Regions from separate parts of the Homo sapiens genome. Here region 2 is linked to region 1. Evidence: promoter capture Hi-C in human tissues and cell types (Jung and others, 2019). All regions are on one chromosome and are shown on one strand. Each heading gives the region's core, a stretch centred on a gene start or on the middle of the fragment in contact. The rest is flanking DNA. Distances are from core to core; before and after follow the strand shown.

Region 1 (4,050 bases), core at 905-3,404:
AAGAATAAATAAGTGTCCACCTCCCTGCCTGGCACAGGCTAGGGTCTCAGCTACAGTAGCTTTATAGTTGTCATTAAAGTTATTATGATATAACCGCCAGAGTTTCACACAGGCACTGCCACAGATGTTATCTCATTTTGTTCTCACAGCCACCCTGGGGGTAGCTGGTGCCCTTTTTGTTTTACAAATAAGGAAAATGCGGTTCTGGGAGGGGCGGTTAGGGACCCACACTGCCAGTGGCAGAGCCTGAATTAGAAGCAGGAGGCCCCCTGGAGCCAGGGCAATGGCATCTACCCCATCTGAGGGTCGTTGTCGCTGGAAGGGAGTGAGGGAGCACTTGCCCAGACCCCAGACATCCTGCAGCTCTCACTCCTCACTGTTGGGCCTCCCTCTCCACACCCACCAGGAAGGCTTAGCAAGGGCCAGGAATTTGCCCAAGGTCACACAGCGGGCAAGTGACCTAACTCCAGACCCAGGCCTGGAGGCCCTGCAAATCCTGACGCCTTTGGATTGTTGGGAGAAGAGAGAAAGAATCCCCAACCTGCACCTCCTGTCTTTCCCCGTCCTCTGAAACTGACCCTACTGGTAGACAAATACACCTTTCTCTCCAACGTACTGAGCCCCTGCAAATAAAATTAAACTGCCAACAAAATAAACAAGAGTCACAACAATAATACATCAGCCATTACTCTGGGGGGATAGAGTGGGAGGTGAGCCACGCTGCCCAGTGCCTACTACGTGCCAGGCCCAGTGCTCTGCGCTCCCTCAATATCTCACTCGCGGCTCACGAACAACCCGCATGCATGCATTATTTTCCTTTTTTGCAAACGAGAAAACCGAAATCTAAATATATAGAGTCAATTTCTCAAGGTCACTCAGCGAGGAAATGGCCAGTCCAAATTTGAACACACTTCTGGCCAACAACAGCACATCCGAGCTCTCACCACTGTCCACACCACAAGGAGCGGGAGGAAGAACCCAGGCCAGGGGTGCGACACTCAAAGAGTTTGCACCTAACGATTTTAGAATTCGCTGGAAGAAAATGATTCCGCTTGTCTCCCCAAAGCTGCAGCGGAAGGTGACTACTTCGTGTGCGGTCCTGTCCACGGTGCCCTGGGCCGGGTAGACAGTCACTGAGGCGCGAGCAGAACGGGGAGTGGTTCCAGCGCCCAAAGTGGACTGGAGCCGGGAAGGGCTCACCAGTCGCGTTTCCCAAAGAAATCCCGCAATTTGCTCTAGGAGCTGCCCGCGCCTTTGACATTCAGGAACCCGAAGTCCCTAGACCCGCCGAGCCGCGAGCGGGTTCCCACGCGCGACCACAGCCCCCTTCCATCCTGCAACGAATTACGAGAGTCAGGTCCCCGCTCCCCACCGGGCGACCCCGCGTCCCTAGCCCAGCCGCAGCTGGCACGCGTGGGCACCTGCGAGTCACGCCTCGGTCCGCCTGGCCGGAGCCAGGGAGTGTCTCCAAAGTGGCCGCGAGGCCGCGGCCGAAACCCGGGCGGGGGCGAATTCTCCCCACGCGGGTCGGCGTCATCCGGGGCGCGGAGAACGCTACGGTGCTCCCCTCGCCCCGCGCGCAGGCAGCGCGAAGCCTGCCCCGGGTAGTGCGCCCCTTTCGTTCCTCCGGCGGCGGTAGCGTCCAAGGGGCTTCTGCGGATTCCGCCGGGTCGTCCCGGGGTTGCAACTCCATTGTACCTGAAAGGATGCATTTGGTTTGGCTTTTGCTCAGATGAAAAAAAAAAAAAATTGGAAGAAAACGAAAACCCACTCAGCAAAAGACAATTTCACAAGCGGAGCGCTCTACCCACCCAGCGCGGTGTCTGGGAAGCGGCCCGGCCCGGAGGAGCGGGGAGCGTCTGCTAATTGCAGCTTCGTTAGATTTCGGGTTTGGGAGGCTGTGGTTCGGGCTCTAATATCCGCCGCCCATTATCCCTGCTAATAAATTTGACCTATTGTTCGTTTGTTAAAATGATGTCACCTTGGAACAGTCCCTAAGCTCCTATTTCCATGAATTAGGCCTTTATTGAAAGCCGGGAGCCAATGAGAGGAGAGAGGCTTGTTGATCGCAGCCAATGGCTGCGGCAGGAGAGGAATTAGCAGCGGAAACTCCAGGTTCGGTTCAAGAAAGATGACACAGAGCCTGTCGGGCCCGCGCACTCTTGGCAAAGTTTCAGTGCGACGAGAGGCGCCGGGCGCTCCATGGCCGCGCCGTAACGGGGACCCAGCCGCCTCCCCGCCCAGCCCAGCCCAGCCCTTCCGCCCGCCCAGGATGGAGGCGCCCGCCAGCGCGCAGACCCCGCACCCGCACGAGCCCATCAGCTTCGGCATCGACCAGATCCTTAACAGCCCGGACCAGGACAGCGCACCCGCCCCGCGGGGCCCCGACGGCGCCAGCTACCTGGGAGGGCCCCCCGGGGGCCGTCCGGGCGCCACATACCCGTCTCTGCCCGCCTCCTTTGCGGGCCTCGGCGCGCCCTTCGAGGACGCGGGATCTTACAGTGTGAACCTGAGCCTAGCGCCCGCAGGCGTGATCCGGGTGCCGGCGCACAGGCCGCTGCCCGGGGCCGTGCCACCGCCTCTGCCAAGCGCGCTACCCGCCATGCCCTCCGTGCCCACGGTCTCCAGCCTTGGCGGTCTCAATTTCCCCTGGATGGAGAGCAGCCGCCGCTTCGTGAAAGACCGCTTCACAGGTGAGCAGAGCTGGCGACCAGGCTCCAGGCCTCCGCCCTCTCGGGGCCAGAGGCGCCGCGCCCTGTGCGCTCCACTCCCGGAAACCATTTCAGAGGCCCAAGCGCGGCGGAGGCCTCGGCCCCAGGGCCCCGGGCAGCCGTGGTGGGGAGGGTAATCGGAGAGTTGCAGGAAAATAAGCCCGTGCCCGGGGGAAGGGACAGGGGGCGAGGGGGTCTCCCGACCGGCTTGGTGTCTCTGGAAACGCGCGCGACCAGCGAAATAGCGGAGCTCTCCGTGTCCCACGGGGCGCCACGGGGTCCGCATGGGGCCTGAACGGTGGCGGAGCCGGGCTGGGCTTCAGGGGCCCTCCTGTGTCTCCGCAGCGGCGGCCGCACTCACGCCCTTCACCGTGACCCGGCGCATCGGCCACCCCTACCAGAACCGGACGCCGCCCAAGCGTAAGAAGCCGCGCACGTCCTTTTCCCGGGTGCAGATCTGCGAGCTGGAAAAGCGCTTCCATCGCCAGAAGTACCTGGCCTCTGCCGAGAGGGCGGCGCTCGCCAAGTCCCTCAAAATGACGGACGCGCAGGTCAAGACCTGGTTCCAAAACCGGAGGACCAAGTGGCGGTGAGAGAGGCCTGACCCGGCCCACCTTACACCTGCCCTTCACCTGTCCCGCCCCGAGCCGCAGCCTCGCACTAGCCCTATTTTAAGGCTATCCACTACCCCCGCCCCCCTCTGCCTCCCCCAAACACACCCCCACCCCGCCTTCGCAGATTGTACCTCTTCCTTTCACCCTTCTCGCTGGCCTGTGCTTCTCTCTCCATCGTGGTCTCCCACGCCTTGGTTTCTCCTCCATCCCCATCCCCATCTTTCGTGAGCCCCTCCAACTCTCTCCCCGTGTTTTGTACGGTCTCCTGCGTTCACTTGATTTCCTCTCACCCACCCCCGCCCCAAACACACAGGCACACACACACACACACACACGCGCACACACACGGGCCTCTCGCACTCTCCTTCTCCTCCTTCTTCCAGCCCGCCCTCTCGGATTTTCAACAATCCTCGTGGACGCCGGTTTCCTCTCCCCCCATCTCCGCGTCTCCATTCCAGCCGCGTTTTTATCCGATCTCTGTTTTGATTCAACCCGTAAACGGCGAAGCGATCGCGTCTGGAAAGGGGTTCAAGACAGGCCCTGGGCGAACTGGATGAGACTGACCCAGCCCCCGGGCGTCGTGCGGGTGGTGCAGAGCCAGCCTGCTCACCCGCGGACCCCAGCGACCCCGGTTCCCGCAGGGCCAAGTCAGTTACACATAGGCCCTGCCCTTGCTATCTGGCGAAAGGAACAATCTTTATTGTTGGTGAAGCCACAATACCCGG
Region 2 (4,050 bases), core at 615-3,114, 41 kb before region 1:
CAGCCTGACCAATATGGTCAAACCCCATCTCTACTAAAAATACAAAAATTAGCCAGGCGTGGTGGTGCTCACCTGTAGTCCCAGCTAGTCGGGATGCTGAGGCAGAAGAATCGTGTGAACCTGGGGAGGCAGAGGTTGCAGTGAGCTGAGATCACACCACTGCACTACAGCCTGGATGACAGAGCAAGACTCCATCTCAAAAAAAAAGAAAAAAGAAAATTTAAAAATTTTTAAAAAAACATACATGCCAAAAATATTTCAAAAAGAACAATACCATTTTTTATGGCTATACCATCACTATATTTTCTTTTCTTTTTTTTTTTTTTTTTTTTGAGACAGGGTCTCACTCTGTTGCCTTTGCTGTAGTGCAGTGGCACAATCTGGGCTCACTGCAACCTCTGTCTCTCAAGGTCTCAAGCGATCCTCACACTTCAGCCTCTTCCTGAGTAGCTGGGACTACAGGTGCACACCACCACATCCAGCTAATTTTTTTTTTTTTTTTTGGAGAGAAGGAGTTTTGCCACGTTGCCAGGCTAGTAGGCTAGTTTTGAACTCCTGAGCACAAACAGTCCTCCCACCTCAGCCTCCCAAGGTGCTGGGATTACAGGTGTGAGCCACTGCACCTAGCCCTATCACTGTGTTTTCTAATTCCACTAAATTTGGAAAGTATCTTCATCCTGTTTTCAGTTGTTTTCTTTTGCCAAATTACATCCATAATAGTTTGTAATTTGCAAATGTAAACACATCAATAGTGTGTTGCTATATGACCGTTAGGGAGCAAATAAGTTGCCTGCAATCATCAGAAAATGTTGGCCGGGCGCAGTGACTCACGCCTGTAATCTCAGCACCTTTGGGAGGCCAAGGCAGGTGGATCATGAGGTCAGGAGTTCGAGACCAGCCTGGCCAATATGGCGAAACCCTGTCTCTACTAAAAATACAAAAATTAGCTGGGCATGGTGGTGTGTGCCTGTATTCCCAGCTATGTGGGAGGCTGAGGCAGGAGAATTGCTTGAACCTGGGAAGCAGAGGTTGCAGTGAGCGAGATCACACCACTGCACTCCAGCTTGGCGACAGAGCTCCATCTCAAAAAAAAAAGAAAAAGAAAAAGAAAATGTCACTCTATATCAGTAAATGATGAAAATAGAATGAGACAGCTATGAAAGAAGGTTCCTTCCTGGCTGCCATTTTTTGCTAATATTTAAATGAAATTATGTAAACTTTATTTGTGGTAATGTTTCAGTTAACCAATTATTTTCCAGGGATAATGGATGTCATTCATATTTTGTGTAACTAGGCAAAGGGCTGTAGACTTATAATTATTTGGTGTGACCCTGGAACTGTTACAACATGTTGGTAATATAAAGGAAAAAGGAAGGTATCTCACATTTAGTGAGAACTTATTATGTGTCAGGTGCAAGAGCTATTAAGATTCACGAGATATAATTTCTCTCCTTACAAAATTTCTTGCCATGGGACAAAGAGACAAGTAACTCACCAGTTATTTGATCATTTCATTAATATAGTGATGACAAAGAAAGTAAAATTCAAGGGGAGGGAGTATTGTCAAAGAGTTCTCCTCATTTAGACCCCACAACAACCCTGAAAAATGGATATCAGCATCCCCATTTTACAGATGAATAAATTGAGGTACAGAGAGATCAACTGGAAAGTGGTAGAGTTGGAATTTGAAGCAAGGTCTGTTTGACTGAAAAGCGCAAGTTCTTACTACTCACACCATTGGTATTCAAGGTGAGGATAATATCTCAGCTTCACCTGGAATGGCTTTTCAAAATATACATGCTATCAAAATGTCAGCGCGTCTCTCCTCCCTCCCCACCCCACCCAAATGCAGTAACCACTGGTACTGGTGGGAGTGTGTCACAGCCCTCATGTGTTTTGCATGAAGAAGGTTGAGGATCACTGACTTAAAGCATGTCCACACTGAAGAAAAAAAAAAAATTCATGGATTGGCTAGGAATCAGACCCAGCCTTTACCCCACCATGGCAAGGGACAAGTCTGCCACCAAATCACTCCTTCCAGCACTCAACCATAATCACAGTATTGTCCCATAAACTTTGGCAGAAACTTTTAAGTTGGTAGAAAATTTTAGCACAAATCAACAGGCTATGGCCCTAGACAAAATACCATATCATGTTTTGCAAAGGAAGTAATGTGGTTGGGCAGGAGACAAATCAAGTTTGTCTTTACTCAGAATTAGCGTGCATTTGTTGGTTTAAGTAATTTCTGTGTGTTAATAATACTTGTTAATCCTTCACTTTATAGCATATGACTAAGTAGTGATATATCTTTATTAACAGTGGAATACTTTCTATTTATTTGGAATGTAGGCTTTCAGATAGCATTTTAAATATTAATGACTGGGCTCTGGTAGTCAGCATAAATATGATTTGCATTAGCACTAGGTTATATCATCTTGAGTGCCTCTGATGTCAGCTATTAGGTATAGTAATATCTGACATCATCTCCTTAGGTTACTGACAACTTTGACCTCTATTCTTATGCACAGTTTCTGTCGTCTCAAAAGCTCTTTTGAATTGATTTGAAATTTTGACTCTTCCCTTTATGAGGCAGTAAAATTGATAATTATTCAGATGGGAACAGAGTGCTGAGTGAAAAATCAATTCCACCCGCTCTCTGCTGCGTATAAAATTACTTCTGAGTCGGCTGGACTGAACGGATGGCCAGAGTAAAAGCGGCAGGCAGGAGTAGTGGGAAGAATTAGCTGGACAGAACTAATAGCCTGAAGGGATGGACTTGAAAAAGAGGGAGTGGGCCAGTTGGGGGTTATTATTAGCAGGGATGGGTCCCATTGATCATCTGTTTACATCAGCTTTCCAAGACCTTATAAATCAGCCCTGAAGAGGAGCAGAACCCAAGATTCAGCCTGTTACCAGTGGGATTTTGTATTGGATTATTTTCATTTTCACACTCAGATGAAAAGTGAGCCATTGATTATTCATTGGTTGCCCATTAAATGCTGTTTTTAATAGATGATTTGCCTATTGCAGAAGGTAATGAACAAGGTTGCTGCTTTATAACTTGAGGTTTCAGTTTTCAAGGCATCTGTGTCGGTTAAGTAATGCCTAACCCTATTAAAAGGAATGGATTACAAATTGCTTAACAGTGCTGAAAAACTAGACCCTAATGACTAATTGTGCTTGGAGTTTAGAGAGGGTTTGTCAGCTCTTTAAACTAAACTGATGCAATGATACTGCAATTATTTACTAGTTTGAACTGTTTTTCCCCCCAACCTGGTCCTATTTTGCTGGAAGCATAATTGCATGAGGAATGTTAATTCCAAATTGCAAAAGTTATCTCCTCAAGCTTCCGTAGTAAAGGAAGCATGAACCCCCACATAAAGGTTTTCCAACATCCTTACAGGCCTTTCCATTTGTGTATAGCAGCCTGGGAAAGATATTTTATGTGCCTCCCACCTGGAATTGTGTTTATTATTCTCTTCTATGTGGCTTTAGAGCTTCAAAATTTTTAAAAATGTTCTCCAAATAATCCATTTTTCATATTTTGCAAACAACTCTAACTTTGCAAGCATTAAAATTTAGTCCATATGAAGATCCATTGTAAGTAAGTGAATCTATTTGAAGTAAAAACAATTGCGTCACCAGCGTTGCTTTGACCTAACAGTTGAGAAAAACCCAGTTTACAGAAATGAAGGTGGAAAATTCTCCAAGCATTTTTATGTTATTAGAAGGATAAACTAAAAATTTAAGGAGAGCCCAACCGTAACAGTGATCAGATTACTAATTACTACTGATTAGTAGCAGATAAGACACTGATCTGCTACAATAATTCGGAAGACAACATTTCTATGTGAAATTTTTTCAGTTTCGTCACTGATCAGTAAGTATTTGTATCTATAATACATAGTTATAGATACATAGCATTCATTTCGTTATATCACAGTGAAAGATTTTGCCCAAATTAGGTAATGAAAGGGTGTGTTTTATAGAATTAGAGGGGCATCTCAGAGATATGAGTAATTCCTTATAAGATTATTAGAATAAGACACT

What was found. Contacts are between HindIII fragments. The study calls those that stand out against the background at their distance.
Region 2: a contact is called between a fragment that was not itself captured here and the fragment with the promoter of TLX3 in region 1, in 1 of the 25 tissues and cell types used here (thymus).

Annotation. Positions count from the first base shown.
Region 1 is chr5:171,307,094-171,311,143 of GRCh38, forward strand. It overlaps TLX3 (T cell leukemia homeobox 3), which reads left to right and starts at 2,155. Exons shown (of 3, transcript NM_021025.4): 1 at 2,155-2,693; 2 at 3,057-3,300. The coding sequence starts at 2,273. RefSeq lists enhancers at 762-1,646, 1,647-2,532, 2,533-3,417, 3,418-4,050. The HindIII fragment of the contact is 20,402 bases long and covers 1-4,050 here.
Region 2 is chr5:171,266,715-171,270,764 of GRCh38, forward strand. All of the region lies in intron 25 of RANBP17 (RAN binding protein 17), which reads left to right. Among named protein-coding and RNA genes, the nearest start is that of TLX3, 41 kb to the right of the region's middle. The HindIII fragment of the contact is 3,677 bases long and covers 27-3,703 here.